Regions from separate parts of the Homo sapiens genome. Here region 1 is linked to region 2. Evidence: promoter capture Hi-C in human tissues and cell types (Jung and others, 2019). All regions are on one chromosome and are shown on one strand. The core of a region is centred on a gene start or on the middle of the fragment in contact, and the rest is flanking DNA. Distances in the headings are between cores, read along the strand shown. Region 1 overlaps IQCJ-SCHIP1 (IQCJ-SCHIP1 readthrough). Region 2 holds the start of IL12A (interleukin 12A).

Region 1 (6,346 bases), core at 3,607-6,106, 360 kb before region 2:
TATGTTAAGCATCTAAAAATATAACATTTCAACATGCCTTTTATAAGTAAGCAAATGCCCAGCACCTTTCTGACATCCCGACTGAGTCATCTATTACTCACTATGATGGGAAGGAAATCAGCGGCAGGCTATGTGATGAGAAACACTGTTGATGTGGTACCATATCACTGTCAGGTGTGCTCCCGTGTTCACCTAAAACCCTGCAGGTTCCTGGGATGCAGAAAGCTGGGAAGAATAGTAAGTTGATGAGTGGACAGGAATCTGCAAGACTTGTACATGTTTCAAAGAAGCACCAACTCTGTATATGCCAAGTATACTGTAAGTACCATAATGGGAGGAAATTCAACAATTTCAAGCTAACATTAAAGACCGCTTCTTTTTCTGAATACTTAGCTGAAGAAACTCAGGGCTTCTGAAGGACAGACAAGTTCTTCATAGCCACTAACAGTTTTTAATCTTTGCAATTCTGATATAACTCAAATATCTCCAACTCTTTATCTCACAGTATTCATTTGCATCTCCAGTGCCTACAGTAAAGCCAACTTGGAGTGAAACCATTGTGTTCCCCAATGAGGCTGCTAATCCTTTCATTTTCTAATAATATAACAACTATATATGCTTCTTTTTTTAAAGGCAGCTGAAGCAGAATGGGTGTGCATGTGTGTGTGGTTTTTTTGTTGTTGTTGTTTTTGTTCTTTGTTTTTTTTTTGAGACAGAGTTTCAGTCTTGTCACCCAGGTTGGAGTACAATGGTATGATCTCGTCCCACTGCAATCTCCGCCTCCTGGCTTCAAGTGTTTCTCCTGCCTCAGCCTCCCTAGTAGCTTGGATTACAGGTGCCCATCATCATGCCTGGCTAATTTTTGTATTGTTAGTAGAGACGGGGTTTCACCAGGTTGGCCAGGCTGATCTCAAACTTCTGACCTTAGGTGATCTGCCTGCCTCGGCCTCCCAAAGTGCTGGGATTACAGGCGTGAGCCACTGTGCTCAGCCCTGCATGTATGTTTTAATAAGGCATCTGTCTCCAAGCCACAAGGCCCCTGGCAAAACCTCTAACCCTTTCCCTTCAACACAGCGGCATCCCTTTTTATCACAGAAGTGAAGGTGTAAATAGTTCCAGAGATTCACAAGGCAATTCCAAAGCAGCTCTGTTTTCAGTCAGGCTTCCCAGAACCTACTTTGCTTCAGGCTTGAACCTAGCAAGCTGACATCATGTTTCCTAAGCAGGCAAGGTGCCACCAGAACACACAGGCAGGGGCACAGCTGACCAGAAACGAATGGGGCCATGTGAGGTGCAAGTCCAAGACAGCAATGTCAACACATCTGACTGCCAGGAATAGTTACACTCTGGGTTAAAGGGCTCTTCCAATTTCAACTAAGATAATTATATAAACAAATAGCATCTGTAGGCATAAAAGATACATGATCTGAAAAGAAATGCTATTTGTTTCTGATGAATTTTCCCAGAAGCTGAACATAGCTTTATTTCATGGAGTAATATACTAGGTTTACAGTATCACTAGAGTTCTTTTTATCTCAAGATCGTAAGGACCTTTGCAATTTCATTAATCCTTACAAGTGAATGCTCAAAAATATTGGCCTCTATACAAATGTTCCCCTTAATAATACAAATTACAATAATCTTTTGTAAAGAAATAATTTACAGCCGGGCATGGTGGCTCACACCTGTAATCCCAGCACTTTGGGAGGCCGAGGCGGGTGGATCACGAGGTCAGGAGATCGAGCCCATCCTGGCTCACACAGTGAAACCCCGTCTCTACTAAAAATACAAAAAAATTAGCCGGGCATGATGGTGGGCCCAGTAGTCCTAGCTACTAGGCAGGCAGAGGCAGGAGAATGGCATAAACCCGGGAGGCGGAGCTTGCAGTGAGCAGAGATTGTGCCACTGCACTCCAGCCTGGGAGACAGAGTAAGACTCTGTCTCAAAAAAATAAAAAGAAAATAATTTACATGGAGGAAACATATGTGCATAGATAGGTGTGCATACACAAATATATATATTCAAAAATGTTTGTTGTAGTGTCATCTGCAGGATTGGCAACAGACTGAATACCTTCCATTAGAAAAACATTGATTGAACCATAGTTAATTCTCTTAAATGAATGATCCTCAGGCAACAGAAATAGACTTACAAGCTTAATAGACTTGAAAATGCTCATCAAGTAGGCATAAGTGTTTTAAAAAGTAAACTGCAAAATTGTATTTATACTATAGATATAATTGTGGAAAAAATAAATGTATATAGACAAGACCTGAAAGGAAATATTTTTAAAGTGGGGAGAAAATTTTTCATAGGAATGGGAAACTTGAGAAGTATATACCTCTTCTGTGTGTTTAAAGTTGTTATAATGTTGTTTGAATAACAAGAAAAGTAATAAACAGTTTTACTTGGGAGGCTGAGGGAGGCGGATCACCTGAGGTTAGGAGTTCGAGACCAGCTTGGTCAACATGGTGAAACCACGTCTCTACTAAAAACACAAAAATTAGCCGGGCATGGTGGCGCATGCCTGTAATCCCAGCTACCAAGGAGGCTGAGGCAAGAGAATTGCTTGAACCTGGGAGGCAGAGGTTGCAGTGAGCTGAGATCGTGCCACTGCACTCCAACCTGGGTGACAGAGTGAGACTCCATCTCTAAATAAATAAATAAACAAAGAGTTTTCCACTTTACATGGAAACTGCTTCTTACATTACCTTTAGTAGGAAAAGTAAATGTTCAGGTGCAGGCTGTAGGGTACTTGTATAAAATTTGGAAGATTTTGGGTAAAAGAATCCTGCAGAGAGAATGTAGTGTACCCCATAAAACCCTAGGATCACATTTAAGCTCTGCCTTAATTTAAAAAGAATCTCTATTTTGCCCATACCCCACGTTTTCTTTCTCTCACAAAAGTAGACAACTTGGGAATGCTAAGTCCATGATAAAAGGTGTTCCCTACTCCCACTGCCTTCCACCTGAGTCTAAGCCTCTTGATTATAGGAGGGACAAGATTCTCCTACAAGGCAGAAATCTGATGTTTCCAAGTTAATGTATAACTAGTCAATCAAAGAACAAATTGTTACTATTTCATATGGCAAAGGTATCTTGTGAAATATGTATAGTGCAAAATTAAAAAAATATATAATGGTTACTCTTTATTGGCCCAGGAATTGTGCTAAGCATTAGCACAATTAGATATGCATTATCACATTTGATCCTCACAGCAACCCTCTAAAATATGTTCCATTAATAGTTCCATATTCCAGATCAAGAACATGAGATTTGAAAATAAATTCACTGTTAAATGGAATCAAAGTAACCTGTGACGCCAAGACCATACTTTAATAGACCTGTACTCTCCAGCTTTCCAAGTACTCATCCAGGTACTTCTAACATTTTTACATTAAAGTCTATCAGGCTTCCTCTGGACAACTCAGTGATTGCCTTTAACGGGCAAAGGTATAATATTCTCCCAGCATGGAGGTGATCTGTGTCCAGGACAGACAAATCCTAGAGGTGGAGAAATGCAGGGTAATTAGGGAGAAACCATGCAGAGAACAAGAAGCTAGAAGATGGAATAATAACTGGGCCTAGAGGTGTGTGTTTTACCCAAAATTCATGGATTATCGACTCACCCACTTAACGAGTGACACCTAAGGCCGTGGAGATTGGGGGTGGAAGGCAGATAGGCATCTACTTGGCTGGAGATTGAAAGGGCAGCTACAAATAATAGCTAAATTTGGGCTAAGGAAGCAATCTTGAGCTAAGCTAATAAGAACCACCATGACCCAGAGATCCAGGGCCCCAAGGAAGAACTAGAAGAGCCTTCCAACGAAAAGGTTGTGAGTCACAGCACCTGAGGGACTTGTTTGGGATTTTTGGCTTTGGCAATCTCCCTGGATAGCCTGAGCCTAAACTTGTAGCTTCCCTTGTGTGCAAGGTTTATACCCTCTAAAACCCTCACACTGAGATGAAAGTTTGCAATGCACTTGAACCAGCATTATATATTGAATTTTGGAATAAAAGGAGCCACTACAGGAAAGGAAGAGGCAGTTAGAGAAAACAAGAACATGAGAACAGTGGTCTTTTGAGGAAAAGCAACAAACAACAGACTTAAGACAACTCAATCACCTTTGCCTTGGGTCTGTGGAACCAGGGGTCTGTGCAGCGCAGTGTGCTGATAAAACCTTGGCCCTTGGAGCTAGAGAAACCAGGTCCACCTCCTAAATCTCCCACTTCCTAACCCTATGGCCTCACTTTGAATCTCTGAATCTGCATTTCCTCATCTGTAAAATAATACCAATCACACCTGCCTCCTAGGGGTTTTGGGAGGCATAAATGGCATAAAGCTTGTGAAACAGCCCACACATAATAAGTGTTCAGCTACTTAAGTCCTGTTTCTCTCTTTTGGTCTGAGAGTCACCCTTATTAACCAGGAAGCTTATGGGGACCAGTTCGAATAGCATTACATTTCAAATACGTACCTCAAGAGCCCAAAGTAACAGCATTGTTCTGTCCTCTTTCTCAAAGAATATTAAAATGATTAAAATACTAAATCTTTTTTCTCTTCTCTTTATTTCCCTCCTACCTAATGTTGCACTAAATTTTTCTAGCGAGTTTGCTTCACGTTAGTAGTTTGCAATCAGCCGTAGTTGGAATTCTTACACCATGGAACTGGGCAAAGGCTACAAATGGGCTCTTTTTTGTTTCCAGAAAGCTGGTTTGTCTGCACACCACTGTTCCAACCCACAGCTTCTCCAAAGCCTTTCTCCTTAACTCCCAACTTATCCCCACCCACCTGCCTCTAGAGTAAACTCATCCTTCACACTCAAGCTTCACGGCTTCCCTCCCTTCTGTATTACCCTCCCTATGTCTCAGCAAGTTAATACGTAGATCAACTGTGCTTCTCCCTACATGTAGAGGACAGAGAAGAACCCAGCTAGCAAATACAGGGCTGTCTGGTGGAATAGGAAAAAGATGCTGTTAAACCAATACTGGGTCAACAGCAGCTTTCCCCTCAGGAGGATTTGACATGAACAGCGATGGTAGTTGCTCTATACTAAACTTGTGGCACCTTCTAAAACTAAGACTGAAGGCTTCCCCACTCTAGAGTGCAGCTTATATAGATAGATAGATAGATAGATAGATAGATAGATAGATAGATAGATAGATATATCTAGATATATATATATATCTAGATATATCTATCTATCTAGATAGATAGATAGATAGATAGATAGATATATCTAGATATATATATATCTAGATATATCTATCTATCTATATAGATAGATAGATAGATAGATAGATAGATAGATAGATAGATAGATAGATTTTTTTTTACCTTAACCAAAGAACAAAAGAAAAGGAAGCAAGTTATTTACTTTGGGAATGAGGGCTTGTGGAGTCTATCTTCCTTCACCTCAGGGGCTATATCACTTACAGCCACTGTCTCAGATGGTACCTGGAGTCCTTCCTGCCCATGTTTCTTGAAGGATCTAATCAGACATGATGTCACCAGTTTCTATACTAGTGGCTCTCTATCAGTGGTCCAACAAGGGTCGTCTGGGGCATGAATGACCCATTATATTATATAATGTGATAGTAAACTCAAGAGGTTAAAAAATTTATCCACCAAACAAAGCTTAGCAAACATAACAGTTTGCCTGGTGTAGATAGTAGTTTGCTTTTTCACATTCAGGCCAGACTAACAAGACCATTCAGTTGTGAGAAGTATCCTTCTCATGTGAGGATTCTACAGGCTGTTGTGTGGTTTGTTGTCCCCTGATGCAGTCCCTGAAGAAGCTGGTCTCCTAGATTGCATTCCTGTCCTCCCTTTTGTACATGCATTGGGATTGGCAAGTGTCCTAGACAAAACAGTATTATATTGCCAGTCAGCTGCCATTTGACTGAGGCTTTTAAGTTCTGGGATACAAGTGCAGAATGTGCAGGTTTTTTACATAGCTATACATGTGCCATGGTGGTTTGCTGCAGCTATCAACCCATCATCTAGGTTTTAAACCCCACGTGCATTAGGTATTTGTTCTAATGCTCTCCCTCCCTTTGCCCCCACCCCGACGGGCCCCGGTGTGTGTTGTTCCACTCCCTGTGTCCATGTGTTCTCATTGTTCAACTCCCACTTATGCATGAGAACATGCACTGTTTGGTTTTCTGTTCCTGTGTTAGTTTGCTGAGAATGATGGTTTTCAGCTTCATCCATGTCCCCGCAAAGACTGTGGCATTTTTGTAATTATTAGTGAAATTATAGACCATGGACTTCTCCACGCCACTATGGTAGCAGAGAATCTTCTAAGTTATCCGTAAAAGATTTATTTAAATATTTTATTTTCTC
Region 2 (6,203 bases), core at 3,699-6,198:
TATTCTTTAATCCATGACGTTATTTGTCCCCATCAAATACAAATATCTAAATGTATTTATATATTTTCATTATCACTAGTCCTCATTCTCATTCCCCTCACTCCCCAGTGGGATCTATCCTACTAATATATATCCTTTTGTCTGTGTCTTTGTATAATGTGTACTATTTTGAATATATCATTCTCATTTAAGTCAATAGAGTTCCGCAATCACTTACTCACAATTCTTAAACTTACACAGCTCTGGACACCAGAAGTTTTCTCTTAAATTCTTAACAGCGAAATCTGACTGAAGCGACAAGGGGTTACTTGGGGTTCTTTAGCCACTCAATGTAACTATTCCTATGTTTTGCTGCGGAACTATTATGCTTGATTATGCGATGCCACCTCTTCCTTTTCTAAATTCCAAGCATTTTGAATTCCAAAAACAAATCTGAGCCCCCCCATTTTTTTCTTTTTCTTTCTTTCCTTTTTCTTTTCTTTTAAGTGAGACAGGGTCTCACTCTGTTGCCCAGGTTAGAGTACAGTGACACAATCATGGCTCACTATAGCCTTGACCTTCCGGGCTCAGGTGATCCTCCCACCTCAGCCTACTTGGTAGGTGGGAGTACAGGCATGTGCCACCATGCCTGACTAATTTTTGTATTTTTTGTGGAGATGGGGAATCCCTATGTTGCCCAGGCTGGTCTCAAACTCCTGGGTTCAAGCAATCCACTTTCCTTGGCTTCCCAAAGTGCTTGGATTACAGGCATGAGCCACTGTGCCCAGCCCCAAAGGGTTTTAATTGTCTACTTATACATTATAGAGAGAGATCTTACTCTGTTTTCCTGTTTTTACTCAGTATTATATTTTTAATACATATCCATGTTACTGCATGTACATCTAGTCTATTACTTCTAACTGCCGTAGAATACTCCATGAAGTGGATCCCTACATTCCACTCACCCACTCCCCCAGTAATGAGCAGCTACATTGCCTCCAGTTCCCCATCACTACAAACAATGACTTAATGAACATCCTCATACATGTTCCTTTGTGGACCTGTATGAGAATCTCCATAGGATATACACCCAGGGTTAACAGCTGGGTCATGGGTGTGAATATACTTAATCTGGTCAAGGAATGCCAGAATACCCTTCAAAACAGCCATGTCAGCCTACTGGCATGGTGTGATATAATAGATCCTGTAGTCCCCCATTTTCCCAACACTTACCAGTATCCAGTGTTCTCAACTTGTCAGTCTAAGAGGTGTAAAGAGATATCTCATTCTTTTTTTCATTTGCATTTTCTGATATAACTGAGCCTCCAGGTATGCTCATTAGTCTTTGGGGTTTCTTCTCGTTAAATTGCTTATTCATGAGCTTTACGCATTTTTTACTAGTGTTTCTGTCTTTTTCTTGCTGACTTACAAGAGTTCCTTGTTTTTAGACATTGAAAATATTGGTTTTAGACACTGAAAAATATCTTCTCTCAATCTGTCAGCTGTCTGTTCATTTGGTTCATGCATAGAGGAAATGTGTAAAACAGAAATCTTCATTTTTATGTAATCCAATTGATAGGTATTTTGCCTTATGGTTTGGAGCTTTAGAAGTTTTAAAAAAGTCCTTCCCACTTATAAGTGACAAAGACAGTCCTCTATATTTTCTTCTACTACTGTAACAATTTTACTTTTCACATTTGGTCTTTAATTCACTTCCAAATGGATTCACCTCTGTTGTTTTAGATTGGAGTCCAGTTTTATTTTTCATCATACGCTGAACATTTTCTCTTTTTAAAAAAATTTTTTGTAGGGAGTTTTTGCTCAGACTGGCCTTGAACTACTGACCTCAAGCAATTCTCCTGCCTTGACCTCCCAAAGTGCTGGGATTACAGGTGTGAGCCATTATGCCCAGCCCATTGAGTATTTTCTACTAAATATTGCATGTTTTCCTCATTGATCAGGGAATCATCTGTATTATCTTATACTTAATACCCAAATATACAAATCTATCTATAATTTCTCTACTCTGTTTCAATGGTCCATATGCCTGATCTGTTGCAAAGATCACTACTTTAATTTCTATGGCTTTAAATTATGTCCATATGTGATAGGGTTAGTCCCCCTTTTCATTATTCCCTTAGCATTTTTACTTAAGGCCAGGAACAGCAGCTCACGCCTGTAATCCCAGCACTTTGGGAGGCCAAGGTGGGTGGATCACTTGAGCCCAGGAGTTTGAGACCAGCCTAGGCAACAAAACTAGACTCCGTCTCTACAAAATACAAAAATAAAAATTAGCTGGACATGATGGTGTTGCCTGTGGTCCAAGCTACTCAGGAGGCTGAAGTGGGAGGATCACTTTAGCCCAGGAGGTCAAGGCTGCAGTGAGCTGTGACTGTGCCACCACTACACTCCAGCCTGGGTGATACAGTAAAACCATGTCTCAAAAAAAATTTTTTTAACTTAGTCATAGATTTTATTACATCTGTATTTTAGAGTAGGCTTATTATTAAGTTTCTGAGAAAATTTATTTGTAGCTTGTATTGGAATTACATTGAGCATGTGAATTAACGAAAAGAGGCTTAAGCTTTCTATATAGAGAAACCTTCCACCCAAGGGTATAGAATTATTTAATTAAATCACACTATATTCTTGACTGAACTTTAAAATTTTTCTCCAAACACTATTCTGTAGTTATCCAAGCTCATGTAATAATCATAATAACTCTATACTGTAGGTACTTTTATTATCATCATTTAACAGATGAGGAAACTGAGCCCAGAGAGATAAATAACTCACCTAAGAACACACAGCAAGTAAGTAGCAGAACCTGGATTAACATAGTTTAGTCCATACTCTTAGCCATTATACTGCCTCTGTATCTACAGTCAGTTACTTTATAGTTTGGCTGCTTCTATGCATGTCATCTTGTTTTTATTACATTTTCTGATGGATTGTTGCAGATACAAAGAAAATCGGCTGATTTTTTTTAAGTTGATATGTGTATTGCATGATGTTGTTAAATTCTCTTCTTAGTTCTAATAGTCTATTAATTTTTTTTCTTTTTGTATATCAACTGTAAAAAGTGACAGTTTTACCTTTTCTTTTCCAATGTTTAAAGCTCTCATTTCTTTTTCTTTCCTTATAGCATTGGCCGAGACCTCCACGACAATGCTACACACTGTGAAGTAGTGATTGTGAGCTAAGACTGTCACTTATAGAAAAATCATGTATTCCTAGAAGAAGGTTTTCATTTCATCTTAGCTAGAGGACATGGAGCACTTCAGGAAACTATTTCACAAAAATGTAAATTAGAAACTGTGTCTGGTAGCCAATAATCCATTTTTAACAGTGGCCCTGTGCTCATCTAAGCAACAGAAATTACTTTTGTATAGGAGATGGCCCTTCCAGGGGAGAAACAGCTCAGTTGTGATACACTTGTCTTCATCCTGACTTTAAGTACATTTAACTCCACACTAAACCCTTGTGGCCACAACACAGCTCTGCACCTGTCATTTGCTCTAGACAAACTGCTAAACGCAATTGTTTCTGACAATGGATTACTCTGTATCCCGTGGGGGAATTCTCAGACAGCAGCATTAGAAGGGGCCTTAGAGATCAACCATTTCTCTTATTTTACACACACCTAAAACTCCCTACAGCCGTGCTTCATCAGCTTCGAGCAGATGAGCCACCCAGAAGGCAGCTCCAGTTATTAGGTCCTAGGGCCTGGGTGTAGTCAGGCCCTTTGGAAGCTCCAAGTCAGAGATCAAACACATCCTCCCCACTACCCACGCCTAGGGTGACTAATGCCTGTGGGAAAAACAACTGAACTAAAAAGTCCCACAGGAACCTCAAACCCAGCACATCCAAAATGGAACTTCTCACCATCTCCTCCAAACTCAGTCCTCTTATACAGTAATCCCTGTAAAGCTAGAACAATCTCCATTCCCCATTCTCAGGGCCTTCCTCTCCCGCTCACCTGAGGAGCTACCAAGCCTTGGCCCACAAGCCCTCTGAGAGTCCCTCCTGCCCACCCTGTGTTCTCCATACTGAATAAGGACTTGGCCACACCTTGTCAACTCTTCCCTCTGCTCTACTCCTGACCCCTGGATCCATCCTTCATGCTGTGGCTGAAGGGATCCCCCCATCATGCAAATTCTGCCACATCTCCCGCCTAAAACCCAGGAAGACTCCCCACTACTCTCAGCACAGAAAGTACACTCCTTAGTATGGCATCCCCTGCCCTCATGGCATGGCCCCATCCAGCCCTCCAGCCTCACACCCTGCAAGGACACCTAGACCCCCACCTCCCTCAACCCTTCATGACTGCGCTTCTGATCCCTGTTTCCCCTGGCTAGACCCTGCGTGCCCTCCCGCTGGAAGCGGTCTAATGCCTGCTTGTTTTTAACACTCAGGTTGGGGCCCCTGCCTGCTCCCGGGAGCCTTTGCTGACTCCTGGACCCCGTTGCTCCGGCTGAGCGTGGGCTCTTTCTCTAGGTCTTTCCTCCCAGGACTCTGTGTATTCATCCTATCGTTAAACTGGATTCTCTACAAGAGTAATAATTGCAGAGTCAGCCAGCTCTCATCCCTTTTCAGGTTTCAGAAAAGACCTGTGAACAAAACGCCTTGAGTCTGATTTAGTGTGGCAATGCCCCAAGGGTCCTGTTCTCCCTGGGTGTCCTGCACCTGGTGCAACGTCGGCCTGGCATCTAGTGAGCCATCTAAAGGAACGATGATGAGTGAATGATTTGCCTACCCCTTCCAGTACTAGGCTGGAGGTCGTGGTTAGGGCCCATCCCTACGCAGGACATGCAAAGTGGGAGGCACTCCTCTCTCTACGTCGGCAGGGGGCGCTGCACAGCTGCGGGGCGGGGTAGCTTAGACACGGGGCGTCCGGCTAAGGCCGGGGACCCAGGGTGGTGGGCGGGGTGTCCCGCCCGCCTGTGGACCCCGCGCAGTAACTGCGAACATTTCGCTTTCATTTTGGGCCGAGCTGGAGGCGGCGGGGCCGTCCCGGAACGGCTGCGGCCGGGCACCCCGGGAGTTAATCCGAAAGCGCCGCAAGCCCCGCGGGCCGGCCGCACCGCACGTGTCACCGAGAAGCTGATGTAGAGAGAGACACAGAAGGAGACAGAAAGCAAGAGACCAGAGTCCCGGGAAAGTCCTGCCGCGCCTCGGGACAATTATAAAAATGTGGCCCCCTGGGTCAGCCTCCCAGCCACCGCCCTCACCTGCCGCGGCCACAGGTCTGCATCCAGCGGCTCGCCCTGTGTCCCTGCAGTGCCGGCTCAGCATGTGTCCAGCGCGCAGTGAGTACTCAGCCCGCCAGGTCTTTGGCTCGCTCGGGTGCGGAGGGGCGGCTGCTTGGGAAGAGTGGGTAGAAACTCAAGTCTGCCTAAGGAGAGACTGGAACAGCAGCAGCCGTCTCCTGCAAAGAGGAATAAGAATAGGGGTCTCACCGTGTGCTAAATAGGGCATGTCTCTTTTCATCTCGAAACAGCCTGATGAGCTATCATTATGCCCACTTCGTAGAGGAGAAACTGAGGCCCAGCGTGGGAGATTTCCTGCTTTCCTGCCTAGGGTCCCTCAGCTACAAACAGAAGGCAGATCCTAGCCAGTTCTAAAGTCAGGCTTGGCCGGGTGCAATGGCTCACGCCTGTAATCCCAGCACTTTGGGAGGCCAAGGCGGACAGATCTCCTGAGGTCAGGAGTTCAAGACCAGCCTGACCAACATGGTGAAACCCCGTCTCTACTAACAAATACACAAATTAGCCGAGTGTGGTGGTGGGTGCCTGTAATCCCATCTACTCGGGAGTCTAAGGCAGGGAAAATTGCTTGAACTCGGAGGTGGAGGTTGCAGTGAGCCAAAATCGTGCCACTGCACTCCAGTCTGGGCCACAGAGTGAGACTCCGTCTTAAAAAAACAAAAAAAGTCAGGCTTTCTCACTCCACTGTTTTTAAAACACTGGGTCCCAAGTCTGACTCAGCCACTTCACCACCTGGTCTGGGTTTCCCTGATCAAAAACATGTAGGCTTTCTCTGGGTGAGTGTTGGGTTCAACACCCTTGTCCAAGCTCATCTCTAGACCCTCACAGGGAGCTGGCTTCTAGCCCTAGAATAGAGTGGCGCTTTGTAATAACTCGAGTCATCTCTCAGGTGTTGAAGGAAAAGTGTTGGAAATGGGTTGAGGGAGGTGGGTGCCAAGCATGAATGGATGGGTGAAG

Evidence for each region. The method cuts DNA at HindIII sites, captures the fragments that hold promoters and counts their contacts. A contact is called where the count stands out against the background at its distance.
Region 1: a fragment that was not itself captured here is called in contact with the fragment with the promoter of IL12A in region 2 in 1 of the 25 tissues and cell types used here (aorta).

What each region holds. Positions count from the first base shown.
Region 1 is chr3:159,620,974-159,627,319 of GRCh38, forward strand. The region is part of intron 4 of IQCJ-SCHIP1 (IQCJ-SCHIP1 readthrough); the gene reads left to right. All of the region lies in intron 1 of SCHIP1 (schwannomin interacting protein 1), which reads left to right. Among named protein-coding and RNA genes, the nearest start is that of IQCJ-SCHIP1-AS1, 140 kb to the right of the region's middle. The HindIII fragment of the contact is 3,214 bases long and covers 3,250-6,346 here.
Region 2 is chr3:159,983,887-159,990,089 of GRCh38, forward strand. It overlaps IL12A (interleukin 12A), which reads left to right and starts at 4,949. Exons shown (of 7, transcript NM_001397992.1): 1 at 4,949-5,288. The coding sequence starts at 5,273. IL12A-AS1 (IL12A antisense RNA 1) reads right to left here. Exons shown (of 10, transcript NR_108088.1): 9 at 5,211-5,407. RefSeq lists enhancers at 2,608-3,807, 4,659-5,159, 5,160-5,660, 5,160-5,209 and silencers at 4,720-4,919, 4,990-5,039. The HindIII fragment of the contact is 7,471 bases long and covers 1,175-6,203 here.